4 separate regions of the Homo sapiens genome follow, and all the other regions are linked to region 1. The links are contacts of gene promoters, found by promoter capture Hi-C in blood cells and fetal thymus (Javierre and others, 2016). All regions are on one chromosome and are shown on one strand. Each heading gives the region's core, a stretch centred on a gene start or on the middle of the fragment in contact. The rest is flanking DNA. Distances are from core to core; before and after follow the strand shown. Region 1 holds the start of CTPS2 (CTP synthase 2). Region 2 holds the start of BMX (BMX non-receptor tyrosine kinase). Region 3 has its middle 5.1 kb from the start of CLTRN. Region 4 overlaps NHS (NHS actin remodeling regulator).

Evidence for each region. Contacts are between HindIII fragments. The CHiCAGO score rates a contact against its expected background, and 5 or more counts as called.
Region 2: a contact is called between a fragment that was not itself captured here and the fragment with the promoter of CTPS2 in region 1, in 1 of 17 cell types (total B cells). The highest score is 6.1, in total B cells.
Region 3: a contact is called between a fragment that was not itself captured here and the fragment with the promoter of CTPS2 in region 1, in 1 of 17 cell types (naive CD4 T cells). The highest score is 5.2, in naive CD4 T cells.
Region 4: a contact is called between a fragment that was not itself captured here and the fragment with the promoter of CTPS2 in region 1, in 1 of 17 cell types (total B cells). The highest score is 5.3, in total B cells.

Annotation. Positions count from the first base shown.
Region 1 is chrX:16,710,929-16,715,274 of GRCh38, forward strand. CTPS2 (CTP synthase 2) reads right to left here and starts at 1,741. Exons shown (of 19, transcript NM_175859.3): 1 at 1,407-1,741. RefSeq lists silencers at 1,194-1,463, 1,524-1,613. The HindIII fragment of the contact is 10,682 bases long and covers 379-4,346 here.
Region 2 is chrX:15,499,527-15,503,872 of GRCh38, forward strand. It overlaps BMX (BMX non-receptor tyrosine kinase), which reads left to right and starts at 1,281. Exons shown (of 19, transcript NM_203281.3): 1 at 1,281-1,414. The HindIII fragment of the contact is 463 bases long and covers 2,063-2,525 here.
Region 3 is chrX:15,667,704-15,672,049 of GRCh38, forward strand. It overlaps a transcript of CLTRN not described here. Among named protein-coding and RNA genes, the nearest start is that of CLTRN, 5.1 kb to the left of the region's middle. The HindIII fragment of the contact is 3,095 bases long and covers 213-3,307 here.
Region 4 is chrX:17,732,221-17,735,515 of GRCh38, forward strand. It overlaps NHS (NHS actin remodeling regulator), which reads left to right. Exons shown (of 9, transcript NM_001291867.2): 9 at 1-3,295. The coding sequence ends at 244. Among named protein-coding and RNA genes, the nearest start is that of SCML1, 3.6 kb to the right of the region's middle. The HindIII fragment of the contact is 569 bases long and covers 1,401-1,969 here.

The sequences.
Region 1 (4,346 bases), core at 491-2,990:
TAAGCACACAAGTAAGTTTAACAAAGTTTCAAAGGTTCAGGGAAAGGCTGGCCCTGTTTTAGATCACTTCCTCCATTGAGGATTGTTTCTGGTGTCAAGACAAGTTTTTCATTTACTCTTACATGCAGTGAGCAGAACCAAGTGTTTATAGGATAGCACAGTGTAGAGCTGTGCTGTCTCCACTACCTAATAAAAAATATTACACAGCCAGGTACGTAATTTTAAGTTTCTAGTAGCCATATTAAAAAAGTAAAAAGAATCAAATGAAGTTCATGTTAATATATGTTATTTAACCCAATGTAGCCAAAAATGTTATCACTTTTAACGCACAATGTAAGAATGTATTAGTGAGATATTTGACATCTTTTTTGTGTACTAAGCTTTCAGAAATCAGGTGCCTGTACTCAGAGCACATCTCAGTACGGATTTTGCCACATTTCCAGTATTCAATAACCACATGTGACCAGTGGCTCCCACATTAGACCAGGCAGGCCTAGAGCAAATAAAAGCACCGGAAGCACCCAGAGACACCTTCTCAGTGATGGCCATTTAAAAAGTAATGTTAGACACAAAAGAGTACTTACCTGATGATCTTGTTCTATGAAGTTCTAGAACAGTCAAAGCTAAGCTATGATAACAATCAGAACCGGGGTTGAGTGCGGGGCCTGGGGTGGATTGACAGAAAGGAGGTACCAGGGAACTTTGCAGGGTGAAGGAAATGGTCAATGTTCACTTTGGGATAATGGTTACAGGAGTGTATAATTTGTCAAATCCCGTCGATTTGCACACTGAAAATGGGACATTTTGTTGTATATAAACCATACATACAATTCTTTTTTATGTTGCCCCCAAAAAAGCTATTCTGTAGCAGCAGCGTAGTTCGGCACTATGCGCCCTAACCATCTAGTACGGGGAAAACGCGGGGGTCGTTGTTTAAGGGGTGCACTGGGACCGGGGAGAGGACAGAAAGGCCATGTTACCGGCGCTGATCACCAGCCTCGCAGACCCCCGCTCGGGGCTTCACTTCCGCCAACGCCATCTCAGGGCTCTCCTGGCTCCCGAGGGCCGGGAGAAGTGGGGATCCGGGTGCGGGCGCTGGCGCGGGCGGAGGCGGGAAGAAGCGCGTCCCGGGGACGCGCGGGACAGGCTCCAACCGCACTGGGCACGGGCCAGCGTTCCCCAGTCCCCGCGCCACACCCGGCAGCCGAGGTCTGCGAGCGCGGGGCTGGCGGCCGGACCCGACTCAGCGCTGGGCAGGGAGCCGGCGCCATCAGAGAGCGGACAAAGGAGCCCGGCCCCACAAGTGCACCGGGGCTGGGGGTGCAGGGCGGAGAGGCCCTGGGGACGAGGGATGGCCCGGGCGCCGAGGCCCTGGGGGTCTGGGACAGGCCCAGAAGGGAAGTTACCTGCGCGGTGGTGGTAGCACCGGGGAGGGTGGCCGGTGGGCACGGCGGGCTCCACCCCGCGGCTGGCCTGGCGCTCACCTGTCGGGCTGGGGAAGGGGTCGCTGCCGGGGCTGTCCAAAGCCGCCCCCGGGATCTTCCCACCGCCCACACGGGCCTCGGGGTGCGCGGCGCCCTCCTCGCCCACCTTCCCCTCTCCTCCCTGCTGCTGGCCCAGCTCACTCACGCTGGTGAGCTTGGGGTTTGCACCCGGGTTTGTGCAATGGTCCAAAACAAGCGCCTAAAAAGTGATTCCTCCAGCACAGGCAGCTCCCGTCACCCTCCGCTCTGGACGCACTGGGCCCCAGGCCTCGCCCAGCCCGGGGACCGCTCCTCCCTCCCGTGGCTCACTTTGCAAAGGCACTTCGAGTGCGCGGGTGAACTCCACGCTTCCCGGGGAACCCCGGCTTCCTGGCAAGCCGAGACCCTCGCTCGGGTCCTCCCGTGCAGATCTCACCCTTGTAAAGAACTTCACTGGTCACAAACGCTTGTGGATCCCCTACTACGCCCCAGGAACTGCAGGAGCGCTCAGGAGAGAAGGAAAAGGAAAGAGAATGCCTGCCTTTGAGGAGCTAGCTCACAGTCTGGTGGGAGGTCCACCCGTCTGTTGGAACCAGTAAGGTTCCCTAGAACAATACTTCTGCAGCAAAGAGTTGCGGGGGTGCAGTGAGGGGAGGAAGGCAATTAAGGCTTCCAAGAGTGACTTTTTTTTTTTTTTTTTTTTTGAGACGGAGTTTCGTTCGCCCTTTTTGCCCAGGCTGGAGTGCAATGGCGCGATCTGGGCTCACTGCAACCTCCGCCTCCCGGGTTCAAGCGATTGTCCCTGCCTCAGCCCCCGGAGTAGCTGGGATTACAGGCGGATGCCAAAAAGCTCGGCTAATTTTGCATTTTTAACAGAAACGGGGTTACATCACGTTGGCCAGGCTGGTCTCGAACTCCCGACCTCAGCTGATCCTCCTGCCTTGCCTCCCAAAATGCTGGGATTACAGGCTTGAGCCACTGCACCCCGCCCAAATACTCTAAAAAGTCACTCTTCGGGTGACTCACGCCTGTAATCCCAGCACTTTGGGAGGCCAAGGCAGGCGGATCACCTGAGGTCGGGAGTTCGAGACCAGCCTGGCCAACGTGGTGTAACCCTGTCTCTACTAAAAATGCAAAATTAGCCAGGTGTGGTGGCACCTGCCTGTAATCCCACCTACTCCGAAGGCTGAGGCAGAGAGAATCGCTTGAACCTGGGAGGCAGAGGTTGCAGTGAGCCGAGATCAGGCCACTGCACTCCAGCCTGGGTGACAGAGGAGACTTTGTCTCAAAAAAAAAAAAAAAAAAGAGTATTGGAGGATGATTGGTGCTGGGAACGGATACAGGAGGTTTTTCGGGTGAAGGCAAGAAGCCAACCACTGAAGGAAGCTAACATGGACAACAGAAGGGTCTGAAGTGAGATGGAAGGTTTTAGGAAAGTGGTGGAAATTTCGCATAACCAGTGTGAGATGCTAGAGCGACAAGTTAGACAAGAGTCACTGAAGACCTAGTGGAGTTTAGAAACCATCATCGTGTAGTGGTGTCCAGCTATAATCTGCTATAATCTGGCAAGGTATCTACAGAAATATAGCTCTTAGTTATGAAACCCAAGTTTCCTGCTTGCATAGAATAGAAGGACAAGAGGGTGAGGAGGTGGAGGGCACAGAAAGACTGCGATTGCAGTGATGGGCCAGAGCTCTAGTCCTAGAGGACAGGAACTGTTAATAAAACCAGCGGGGAGCTGATGGACTGGGAGACAGATGAGAGAAGGGCTCCAAGGCCAGGGCCTCTGAGGAGAGGACTGGCAAACTGGCAGCAGAGAGTGTGGTGCTGGAGTTCAGGCCTTCAAATGGATATTCCAGGAAATGAGACAGTTTGGGGTGTGGCAGCTACAATGGAATAGAAAAGTGAGATGGGCATCACTGGCCTTGGGTTTAGTGCCCACAAGGCTGGTATGTTGGACATCGAGGGTCCCAAAAGGATGGCAGGAGGTGGAGGAGTCAATCGAGGTCAAGGAACTTTAGAGAATTGGGGTTGCGGGGTGGGTAGTGAGCCTGAAACTAATAGATGACTGTGACAAGGAAAGGGAGAAGGTTGCAGAACAAATGTCAGTGCCTTTCAAGACACAATGGAGGCCTGGCGCCATGGCACACCCCTGTAATCCCAGCACTTTGAGAGGCTGAGGCAGGCAGATAGTTTGAGTCCAGGAGTTGGTGACTTACCTGGACAACATGGCAAAATCCTGTCTCTACAAAAAATACAAAAATTATCACGTGTGCTGGCATGCATCCCAGGGGAGGCTGAAGCAGGAAGGTCGCCTGAGCCCAGGAGGTCAAGGCTGCAATGAGCTATGACCGTGCCACTGCACTCCAGCCTGGACGACAGACTGAGACCTTGTCTCAAAAAAAAAATCAATTAATTAATTTAAAAAAATAAACACGACCAGGCATGGTGGCTCACCCCTGTAATCCCAGCACTTTGGGAGGCCGAGGTGGGTGGATCACGAGATCAGGAGATCGAGACCATCCTGGTTAACACGGTGAAACCCCGTCTCTGCTAAAAATACAAAAAATTAGCCGGCCGCGGTGGCGGGTGCCTGTAGTCCCAGCTACTCAGGAGGCTGAAGCAGGAGAATCTCTTGAACCCGGGAGGTGGAGGTTGCAGTGAGCCCAGATCGCGCCATTGCACTCCAGCCTGGGCGACAAGAGCGAAACTCCATCTCAAAAAATAAAATAAAATAAACACAATGGAGTTTCTCCCCACCAAGGATGAAAGAACAGTGTTGTGGAGGAAGCAGTAAGGAACTTGGAACAATGATGTCAATTTCTGGGAAAATAAGCAGACGCTTCACTCAGCAGGGTAGCCTTGGGGGAGATCCAGGTCTCC
Region 2 (4,346 bases), core at 1,044-3,543, 1.2 Mb before region 1:
ACAAATCGCCATGTGGAAAAGGAAATTAACTAGCAGAGTGTAGAATTAATTTATTTAGCCAGGTTGTTGTGCCACTCTTGCCCTGCTTCACCCTTAATTTTTTGAATGACTACCTACTATATTCCTAAAGAATGGAGAGCTATTTGGAATCCATCAGTGACTTTAATTTGCTATTAGAATGTAAGTTACACTCTTTTGAATTCTTCTGAAGGACTCCTTTCCCTTCCCAAAATTCTAGTTTCCAAACTGAAATATTAAAAAATATTTCTGCAAGTTATTTTTCCCATACTCTACTGTAATTAAACCACTATTTGTGGTTCCCCCCCCCCCCACACAGACACATAAGCCCCTTGAAGATGTGGGCTGCCTCTCTTCTGTTTGCTCTTGTGTCTCCAACCCCTAACGGAATGCTCAGCACATGGCAGGTTCTCAAATAAGACTTGACTGAACGAATTAATAGAAATGATGCTAATTCCATGTACACTCAAAAGAATACCTCTTTGAAAGCCAGTAGCTTCACTCTCTTCTGCCAACCCAAGACTTCTTCACATCATAGATACTTACAAATAAGTTACAGTAAGCAACAATTTATAAGTAAACACAGTGTGTCAATGCATGCCAAAAGGATGATTACTTTTCTTGGCTATCCATAGCAGGACATAAAATATGTCCTTAGATTTATTACAGATGGCCAGCCGGTATGCACCAGAGAAAATAGTGGAATGGGGGAAGCCAAAAGTTGTGAGTCTGTCATAATGATGTCAAGTGACACACTTTTTCATTGCGATCTAGGTGTACCATACCTTAGCAAAAACAATCTATTTTCCATTTCTGGATTTCTTAATAACTTAAACTATATAAATAAGCTCCTTTTCCATCATATGAACTGTTCTTACATATTCTCTGGCCTTCCTTTGTCCAAATGTTGAGTTGAAGTTTTCATTGCATATTCTCTGTGCACTTTGCATTACCTAATGGTTTCCTGGCTCATGTGAGAGAAGTCAGCGTCAGCAGTCGGGTTTTGCCGAGATATTTTCTTGTCCTTTCCAGCATAGAGCTCTACAAACAAAGGCAGGGTTATCACATGTACCCGAGAGCTGCCTGGGAAAAGTGGGAGCTATAGTTATCAAAATTGGAAACTTTATGAAGTATGCTTTTGTCTCCGTTTTTGTTGCGTTCAATCAGATCAACAAGTGTTGGCTAAGTGTTGAGCGTGGTTTCCTGTGGGATTGTGTAAGGCTCTGTAGGACAATAAACGTGTTGGGGGCACTGAGTAATGTAGCCATTTCTGACCCGGCAGCCAGGAAAATGTGAAACAATTTGCTTCTGGAAACAGGACAGCCGGGGCCGTGTTCCTGCAACAGCAGACCAAGCACCGCGGCGGACCCAGGCAAGCACGGAACAAGCTGAGACGGTGCGTTTAAGCGGCAGGTGGCTACTCAGTGTCGCATACTATGCGGAAAATAGGTTTGGTTCCCGGTGTTGTGGGGCCTGAAGTTACAAACTTTGGGAAGCTCACTTTAAGAAAAATAGTACAACATTTTTAATATGAAATTGCCAGGGCTTTCTCTGGGACTTTAGATGGGACCAGGTAATTTGGAGGCCAACGGCTGAAACTGCTATAATTTCACTGTAAATTCACTCCTTGCTCAAAATCTCAGTTAGGGAAGCTCTCAGGTTGTTTATGTATCACCACCAGTTCTACCTAGCTTTGTGTGTATTCTCTGCTAATTTTCTCCATCCGCTTCTTTAGGTATTGCCTTTCCATAGCCTTTCATATTGGCCTCATAACTGCTTCCAAAGAGACATAGAAATGTTCCTTATACCTTCTTTAACTGTGTTTTTATGATGTTACTTTAGCTACAAATATTTGCTCTTAGGTTCCTGAGGTCTCCCTAAATCAAGTGCTTTGTGTATTTTAGATGGAGATAGACAGGTGGGAGGGAGGTGAACCATGCAGTTGTACTCATATCCATATAATTTTGAAAGATTTTGTGGGCCACAATGATTTCATTGGATTTGAAAAGGAGTGCAACTTTGTGGTCCATGTAAGTGCTTCTCAAGCTTTCCTGTGCACGTGGATCACCTGGGGATCTTGCTAAAATGAAGATTTGGCTGCGCGAGGTCTCGGGTGGGAACTGAGAGTCTGCATGTCTAATGATCGCCCGGATGATGCAAGTGCACGGACCACACTTTGAGTCACATCCAAGTATTTATTTGTAGGAAATATGGTGGCACAAATACACAGTCAATAAGGGTATGGTTCAACCTCATTTTATGGTAACTCGTCTCAGGATGGAAAGTCTGCGACAAACCTACTATGTATGGACTGGTGTTTGTTGACATGGCAATACATGAGGAGGTCTTCCTGCCTCCCATTTTCTCCTATACCCAGGAGCTGGGGACAGAGGGATGAGAAGTAAAATTTTATCATTAAGGATCATTATTATTTCACTGTCTTTAGTTTTTTAACTTTTTATGGTCCTTTTTAAAACTTTGCCTATGGAGTGATCAGAAGGGACATAAGCTTTTAGAATATCTACTAGGGTGTTGGGCATTAGGCTGCCATTTTCTCTTGACTACTTGTAACCCTTCGAAGTGGTTATTGTTTCACTGCCTTTACAGATGGGGAAGCTGAGGTTTAGCTGGGTTAAGTAACATGACAGATTCCATAGAGACAGAGCAGGGATTCGAACCCAGCTCGGTGCTTTCACTTGCACTAACCGGCATCATGAAAGCAGTGTTACATGTTTAATTCAGCATGAGATGCTAGCTCATGGATTTATTACTTTTTGCTTTTCTCCTAAGGAAGTTGCCCAGAGAGAGTGCCCTAAGCAGAGGAGAGGGAGCAGAAAGAAAGAGGTTACTGAAAAGAAGAAAAGACTTAGAAAAGCTCTATGGGGCACTGAAGATTAATCTCACACCTAAAGCAAAACTTAGCTCCAAAAAGACTAGCATTAAGATTCTTGCCTTCTTTGTGAGAAAATGATCTTCCCAAAGTGTCTGGTTTTTATACACTTATTTTGGATCAATTAAGGTATGATGCTCCAAGATGCTGAGAATTTGACTGTCAATGTTAAAAGATTTCTGTCCATATCATGCCAAGATCAACTTTAACTTTCCCTCTCCTGCATAACATCATGTGAAATAAGGATCTGTCAGGTTCTGTGAAGCCAGTATTTGTCTTTGGCCAGCATCCTAAGACTTTTTGAACCACTTTACTTGATCCTCAGTCAAACTTTTTGTTCTTGTTTAAACCTACCATCACATTTTGTTCAGTTATTTAGCACGAAGATAAGCGGGCCTGGCATTTGGACAAATATTTGAAGATCAAGTTTGTCACAGGGCCCTCCAGTTTCCCTTCCAGATCCCACCCCACTTGGAGCGTCTTCCCTTTCTTTCCCACCCTTCCTGCTCTACTGCCCTCCCACCACATGTATTATTTTAACATCTTGACACCTACAAAATCTTTAGCTATATGGCATGTAAAGTAAGAGAGGATAACTAAACCAAGTCAAAGGGTAAGGAATTGCTATCCTTATCTCTGAATTTTAAAAGATAAATCTTTAAAGACACCACCCTGAGCCAGTCAGGGAATACACTTCCTGGTTGAGGGAACTATCCAATGGCCACTTAACTAGATAACCCTGTCTCCCTTGGTATCCTGTTTCCTGCTCCCCTTCTGTACCACTGAGAATTTATTCCAACTTTTGAGGTTGTATGTTCTTACCTATTTTCAGAATGTGGTTTCAAATTTTGCTATTTAACACTGCCTTTCAGCAGGAGATTCCTATCGAAAGATTATAGGTAACATCTTTCTGATATTTCCAATAAAATGTCTCTTGCACTGGTCTGTTAAGACTCAGATTTATGGGTAGTTTCACCAAACTATGTCCCTTAGCAAAGCTGTAGTATGTTTGGCTGAACACACAGATATCTCCTACTCTGTTTACTGCCATCATGGAGTGGATGGTGTACAGGTATGACACCTGAAGCTGGCTCCCAGGGCCATGCCTCTTAGGTCACTGGTTAACAGTACTGGCTAAGTCACTTAGGCTGCTGGGGCTCAGTGTTACATCTGTAAAATGACTTCTAGGTTTCTTATAAGATTTGACATCCTATGACTGCCTTCCTGTATTTAGGTTAGAGCAGTCTCTGGTTTAGGAGGGTCACACAGCAGGCATGTCCTTCTCTAGCATTAGTAGCGTGGTCACGAATATGGGATGTGGAGTTAGACTGCCGGGATTCAAATCTAGCTCCACCCACTAGCAGTGTGACCTGGGCAATTTATTTATCTATTGCAGCTCCATAAGCTATAAGCAGGGAATGATGTTACAACTTACTCT
Region 3 (4,346 bases), core at 510-3,009, 1.0 Mb before region 1:
TGTTTTGTTGTTGTTTGTTGTTTTTTTTTAATAGAGACAGGATCTTGCTCTGATGCCCAGGCTGGAGTGCAGTGGCACCATCTTAGCTCAGTGCAGCCTCAACCTCCTGGGCTCAAGCAACCCTCCTGCCTCAGCTCCCAGAGTAGAAACACAGAATTCTTCTTCAGGTTCCTTTAGTCTTGCATTTCTTAAAAGTGACAAATTTCTTCATAAGCTTTTAGTCATCTATGTAACTAGAATTGAAGACAGTAAAATATTGAGTTTCAGTCAGTGTAAGCCATTCATCTGAAAAGGGAAGACAATCTCTTATTTCATTATGATTTCTCAATATTTGTGTTCTCATTTTTAAAATGATTGAAAAAAGCAATAGAAATTCTGTATAGACAATATAGAGAAGCAAAAAAAAGTAGAAAACATCCATAATACTACCAGAATGGATGACCAATGCTAATATATTTTCATAGTTAGAATGCGCCTTCCTTAGCCTTGGATCTCTTTATATGTTCTTGTAGGATGTTGTTTTTTCTCACTGCAGTGGCACTATCAGAACAGAGTAATACAATGATGGGAATAAGACGCACCCTTGTCTTCTTCTTTACTCTAATAGGAATGCCACTACTGCACGGAATCTGGCAAGTGGCTTTAAAAATGATGTGTCATGTGATACGAGCATTATATTTGTAATTACAAAAAATTATTTTCCTCAGTAATTGGTGTTGCATTTTATCAACTGCTTTTCACTATTAAAATTTTTACCATTTGGTGTATTACATTAATACATTTTTCACATTGATTCAATTCTTAGATAAAACATTTTTTTAATTTATTTTTAGTATGCTGCTGGAATCAATTCCTGGTTTTTCCCCTATGATTTTTAAACCTATTTTCTTAAAAGAATATCAGGTAGGTTCCTTTTCAAGTGCTGATTCTTGAAGCGTTTTTTTTCCTAGCCTTTACCATCTTGAAAATGATACAGAAAGATTTCTAACATTGTCTATGTTTAGAAATACATATAATGTACCAGAAATAAAGAGTTCACAGATGAAGAATCTGGACCATGTGCATTTTAGAGGAAGAGTTCTTCAAAATTTTTCATTCCTTACATTATCATTTATTTCAGGTTTTATACCTCTTTCTGAATCCATTTTGGCTGTTTACAATTTCCAAGAAAATATTCTGTTAAGATTTTCTAGTATCCTCATGGACTTTATAGAGTATTTCCCATAAAATATCTACTTTTGTTGTTATGTTCTCTTTATATTTTCTAATACGTGTATTAATTTTCTCATTTTGATTATATTATCTTTGTTGTTTAATCAAAGAAGAAGATCTTGGACATAATTTGCAATTCTTTCTGTTTTTTGATTCATAAATCTTATTTATATTGGTTACATACTGTAACAAATTCATTGTTAAATAGTTTGATGGAGATCTCAGTAAAATAAATGGAAAACAGAACTAGATACTAGGGTTCTTGCCTCTCAGCATATTATATTTTCCTATACTTTTCAAAGTCTTGCACAAATTTAGTGCTTGTCTTGATGTACAAGTTTTAAGTAGTAAGTTTCCAGAGCCTTCATATCTGTATAAATTGCTTCATAAAATGCTCATTTCAGCAATTTCACATATGGGAGCTTCATAACTTATTAGTAACCATGGTAATGATGACAAATAAAGCAGTTCAATCATTCTGAATATGTTACTATTTACTTCCAAACGTTCAGAGTTTAGAGCATGTAGATTTAAAAGTTCAGATTACTGTTGCCATGAGCCACACAAAAGGGCACTGAGTCTCCTGAGATGGGAAAACGAAATTGATTTCTCCGTGTTTTTTATACTCCACAACACTCTTGAAAAGCACTTTCTGGGCACATAACTATGGATCTACTGCTCTGGGGTAAACAGAATATGAGATCACATGAAAAGAAAACACATGTGTCGTTCTTTTGATTCATGCAAGATCCCTTAAGTTCACTAGATTCGTATAAATACGTGGGCGTATGTAGGCTCCATTCACCTCCAATAAAGCAAGAGGTGGAGATGACCAATGTTTCTTTTAAAATTGACCCTGGTTATTTTGTTTCATTATCAAAAACAGAAATTTAGTAAATATATAGCTCCTAAAATTAGTAAACTGTAAAACCATCTCAAATGTGACATTATTCTGTATATTTTTATTGGATTTTCAGAAATGTTATCTGGCTGTGACACATTAAAAGAAATCAATTAAAACTTTTAATAATTGAACATAGAAACTTTGTATAAGATTTTAAAACTTCACACTTTTTGCTGCTGGGCATGGTGGCTCATGCCTGTAATCCCAGCACTTTGGGAGGGCGAGGCAAGCAGATTGCTTGAGTCCAAGAGTTCAAGACAGGCCTGGACAACATGGCGAAACCCCCTCTCTACAAAAAGTACAAAAATTAGCCAGGCTTGGTGGCATGCACCTGTGGTCCCAGCAACTTGGAAGGCTGAGGCAGGAGGATCACCTGAGCCCAGGGAGGTTGAGGCTGCAGTGAGCCATGATTGTGCCACCACACTCCAGTCTGTGTGACAGAGCGAGACTCTGTCTCAAAAAATAAAAAAAACAAAAACCAAAAACAAAACACACACACACACACACACACACACACACACACACACACACAAACCCCTTTGGAAGTTTTAATATCTTAATTAAATGGCTCTACTCAATGATTTCCTAAATGTTGTAGAATTTTAATAAATGACATCCTTCCTTGTTTAAATTGTAATGAAATGGATATACTATATATAATAAACAATATCAAGATGTTTGTATTATTAATAATTTATACAATGTTTTCAGTATAATTAGGCAACAAAAATAATTTTATTCTCTTTAAATTGTCAGTGTTAAGATACATGGAGAGACAAAGTATTTTTGTCTATTGTGTGTAAGTTCTATTTTAACTCAGTGGTTTTCAATTGGGGGTGATTTTGTGCTCCAGAGACACTTGGCAACGTCTGGTGACATTTTTAGTCATCATGAATGGCAGATGAGAGGATTCTACTGGCATCTAGTGGGTAGAGGCCAGGGATGCTGCAAAACACCCCCACAAACTTTAAAAATGTCATTTAGGTAACTCTTTTCTTCTTGTAGTTGAGTTAATGGAAATAACCCACACAAGGAAGAACAGAAGAAAAAAGGGAGACAAGTGTGTGTGTGTGTGTGTGTGTGTGTGTGTGTGTGTGTGTGTGTGTGTGTGTGTGTGTGGTTTCTCTAAGGCTAAGAATGTAAAAATATATACATTGCAATGCATTTCATGGTACTTAATTTCCAGTCACAAGCTTATTAGAACTTCAGTTTATGATTCAAATTAGTCAACTCAGTTTTCTTAAACTATCATATTCATGGGCTACGAGAAATGCAAAAATGAACCAAATATAGTCTCTGCCCTTCAGGAACTTACAATTTTGTAGGACACAAAAGTAAATCACGATGGCAATAGATGCACATACAATTGTGAACAAAATGCTATAGGAACACTGGAGAAAAAGAGGATAAAAAGTTACTGGATTTGACAAGTCAATTATAAAACTGTTAACAAAAGAAAAATAGAAGAAAGGTTTCTCAATGATAATCAAGATAGACCTGGAACAATGGCAAGATGTTTAAAGATAAAACATGAAAGCCCACAGGATACAAGTTAAGGAAATCTGAAAACAAACACAAAGGACAGATACAGGATATGGCCAACAGCAGGGACTTGCTGGTAGAGTGGTTCAGAGGAAGATGGGGGAGAGAGCATCAGTGTAGATGCATCTGAAAAGCCAAGTTGGGTTCTGATCTTAGAGGTCAGAGAGTCTGGATTCTCCAACAATGGTCCTGAGAGGCTAATGAAGATTTCAATGTGGGAATGGGTTCATTGTAAATGACACAGAGAAGGACAATGGGAGATGGGAAGGACATTCCCTGACAGTGAGTTTCCAATGTGCCCTTTATTTACTAATCACAGGCTGTTGGACTGGCAGCCCACTACGTGCCCATGACTACAAAAAACAGGAAATTATTTTTCATTGGCCATCTTAATAAAAAGATAAATGAGCTTATTTTAATAATAATTTTAGAATATAGAACAGATGATGTTACAATCTTTTGGTATGCTTAATTTTATGCGCGCACACACACACACACACACACACACACACACACACACACAATTTCCAGTATCCTTGGTAAGCAAGAAACTCTATAATGTGGAATATTTTTGTCTCCATCACATATATCCCCTTTTTAAGATGAGAAATCATATTAAGCAAGGATATTTGAAAAGCTCATCAAATTTTGTAGGTTAATCAGTAGCCATAATCATTATGAACTTTGT
Region 4 (3,295 bases), core at 435-2,934, 1.0 Mb after region 1:
GGCATTGTCCCCACTCTCTCCATGCTCCCCACGAGTTAATGCAGAAGGCTTTTCCTCGAAGAGCTTTGCCACCTCAGCATCAGCAAGGGTTGGACGTTCTCGGGCCCCTCCTGCAGCCAGCAGCAGCCGCTACAGTGTCCGCTGCCGGCTGTACAATACGCCCATGCAGGCAATCTCCGAGGGAGAGACGGAAAATTCTGACGGGAGCCCACATGACGACCGTTCCTCCCAGAGTTCAACATAGACTGCCTGTACCAGGCTGCCTGGCAAAGGCCAAAACCCTTACTCACATGAGGATGGAGGAACAGAACAGAGGACTTGGGAAAAGTCTCAACTTGATGGGGTAGCATCACTGCTAAGCAATGAATGAATTTCTAAATACAGTATGTGCTGGGTAAACAGAAAGTGGTTTAGACATTCTTGATTAGTTTCCATATTTTAAGTAGCTGCAGTCTTTCATGTTTTTCTTTAGCATAGTTTGATTTACGCAATCTCCTTCCTTGTGAAAATAGAGGATACAAAATTGTCTAATTTTCATGACACCTAGAAAACGTTTTCCCAGAGCTGCCTATTCAGAAACTAAAGCCCTCACTGTCATTATTCTTTAAGAAGATGAAATTACTCTGGATGTTTGGTATTTTTTTACATTAAAACAAACTAAAGCAAAATTTAGAAGAAAGAACTACACATATGTAAATACCATATTTTTGATAAAAATGTGTAAATAGATTTATCAATGATGAGTGGACATGTGGTCAATTATCTACTGCACACCAACTGTTTATAGAATACACAAAAATAAAATGTAATAACTGTATTCTGTGAATACCATTTTCATATCAAATGCCATATTTAAATGTCCACCAATATGATTTCTGAGTGGTAAACCTCAAATATGAATTTTAAACTGGTGAACTAAAGGAAATCTTGAGGTCATATACTGAAATATGAATAAATTAAAATAATGAATTCAGATCTAATCATTTTTATGACAAATTGCAGCACCAAACAAACTAATAGCAACCCATGGCTGTGATTTGTTGTGTGGTAATTTGGACAGAATGAAAAGCATGCTTTTGATTTTTTTTTTAATCAGTGAGAGAAGTCATCATTCTCAACACAAAGCCCTGAACAACAGCATTTGACAGTGTCCTTTAGATTTTAATTTTTTCAATGGATTGCTTTAAAGAGAATGAGTAGGGAAAATAGTAGTTAATTTTAGGTTATGTTTTATATTAGGCTACTGGGGACATAAACGGTCATAACTAATGACTGTAATCATTAAACTCCTTAAACAGTTTAGAAATTAGCTCCAGGTTCTTAAACTAACAAAAATAAAACCTAAGCATGCCACAGAGCTATTGATTAATCAGTAAGTACCTGTAATGAGTTTTCAGTGAAGCTTTCTCTCTGTGCTGATGAGATTCATGCTACCTAAAAATTAACAGAAATGACACTGTGAACAATGTAGTTGGAAAATAGGTATGTGTATATGCATTATTTATACTCATTGTTAAACTGGGAATGGGGAACAGCTCTGGTTCACAATACTACATACAACTGAGTTTTTGTCTGGTTTTACTATAGTGTCTGCTTGATGGCAAAAGGGGAGGGTGGAGGGTGGGAGAGGAAATGTCAGGGCATGTGCTCTGATAAAATAAAGGCAGGGAAACAAGCTGAATTACTTGAAATTACTTGAATTTTCTTGTCTTAAAACTGAAAAAAAAATGTAGTTACACGTTAAAATCTGCAAATGGTTTTTACACCTCTGATTTTAACATGAACTTATACTAATGTTTGGAATCTTATGTCAGAAATATAAGCAGCTATGTACTTAGAATAGGTTTTGAATGGGAGAGGTAGAACAGAGAGAGAATTAAGAAGGGATCTGACTTATAAAAGACTAGAATGTGATTAGAGTGATAGAACATACCAATGTTACCAAGAAATTGACAAGCTGCTGGCTTTAAGCTTATGCAAGTGGTAGTTGGGAAAGTAGGAGGTGTGGAAGAGGGTTTGCATTTTGGATTAATTCATGCAAAATGAAGGAGGAAGCCTGGTCTAAGAAGATACTGTCTTTCAATAGAAATGATTTCTAAACTGCTACAGATTAAGAATAGATAATCTGATTGCTGTTGTTTTGTTTGTTTGGAAAGAAAAAAAATGTCTGGCTTCTTCTACTATTTGTTTTCACTACCAAACTGTGTTACTAAATTTCTTGTCATCCTTGTATGTAAAATGGGTGCTGGGGGTGGAGGGGTATAAGAGGAGGGAGAGTCAGAGAGAGTGTGTATGGGTGTGTGTGAGTGTGAGTGTGTGTGTACGCACACACACTGGGGATAGATAAGCTACCTGGTAAAGGGTTTGAACATTTACAAAATGTCACACTTTTTCTTAAAAGAAAAATATTTTGGGGTTTGAATAAAATGGACCACCATTTCTCATTGGAACCCATTAATTAAGAAAACCAGCATGGTTTGACACCACATGGGAACATGAATAAATCTGTCTCATGATTTGAAAAGTACACCTTGCAAAGTTTTAAAAATAAAGTTTTTAGGCAAATGCGATAAGAAACCGTCATTTCCAGTCACAGTAGGCGATCTTTCGTAATTTCATAAAAGCAGTTCGTTTGCAGTATGGCTTTTGTGTAGTTAGGGGTTTTTTAAGTGTGAAGAAAGGTATGTGGGCTTTAAAAGTGATTCTAAATCTTGAATAGAAAACACATGAATTGGCTTTAATAAAAATGTCACCTTTTTATTATTGACATTAAGTAATGGTACCATATATTTTTTAAAATACATATTGACTTGAATTGTGAGGCAATAAGATACCTTCTATATGTAATGATCACAGAACTAACCCTTATAATATAGTTTTACTTATTTTGTTTACTCTAAAAATCTATAGCAGAGTTTCTCTATTTTATATTTCATAGATTTAAAAAACCCAAATAAAGATGGATTTAAAATTCACTGTGGAAAAGAGTATTGAGTTACAAACTGAGAAGAAAAAGCAGGAAGTTCCCTAATAATCTGGAATATTCTACATGGCTTGATTACATAGCAAACAAGACCAAGATTTAGGGCTGTCTTTAACATCACTGCCGTCTTGAAGCAGGGTACACACGTTAGGTATTGTGAAGAACATCAATCCGAACTTTTCTTCTGTTGTTTGCACTGATGCGATTTTTTGTTCTTTTATGTTTATACAACGTATCTATGTTGTGTAGGGGAAATTTTTTCATTTTTTAAAAATTCTACTTTGGTTTTGTTGTTGTTTTGATTTGTTTTTG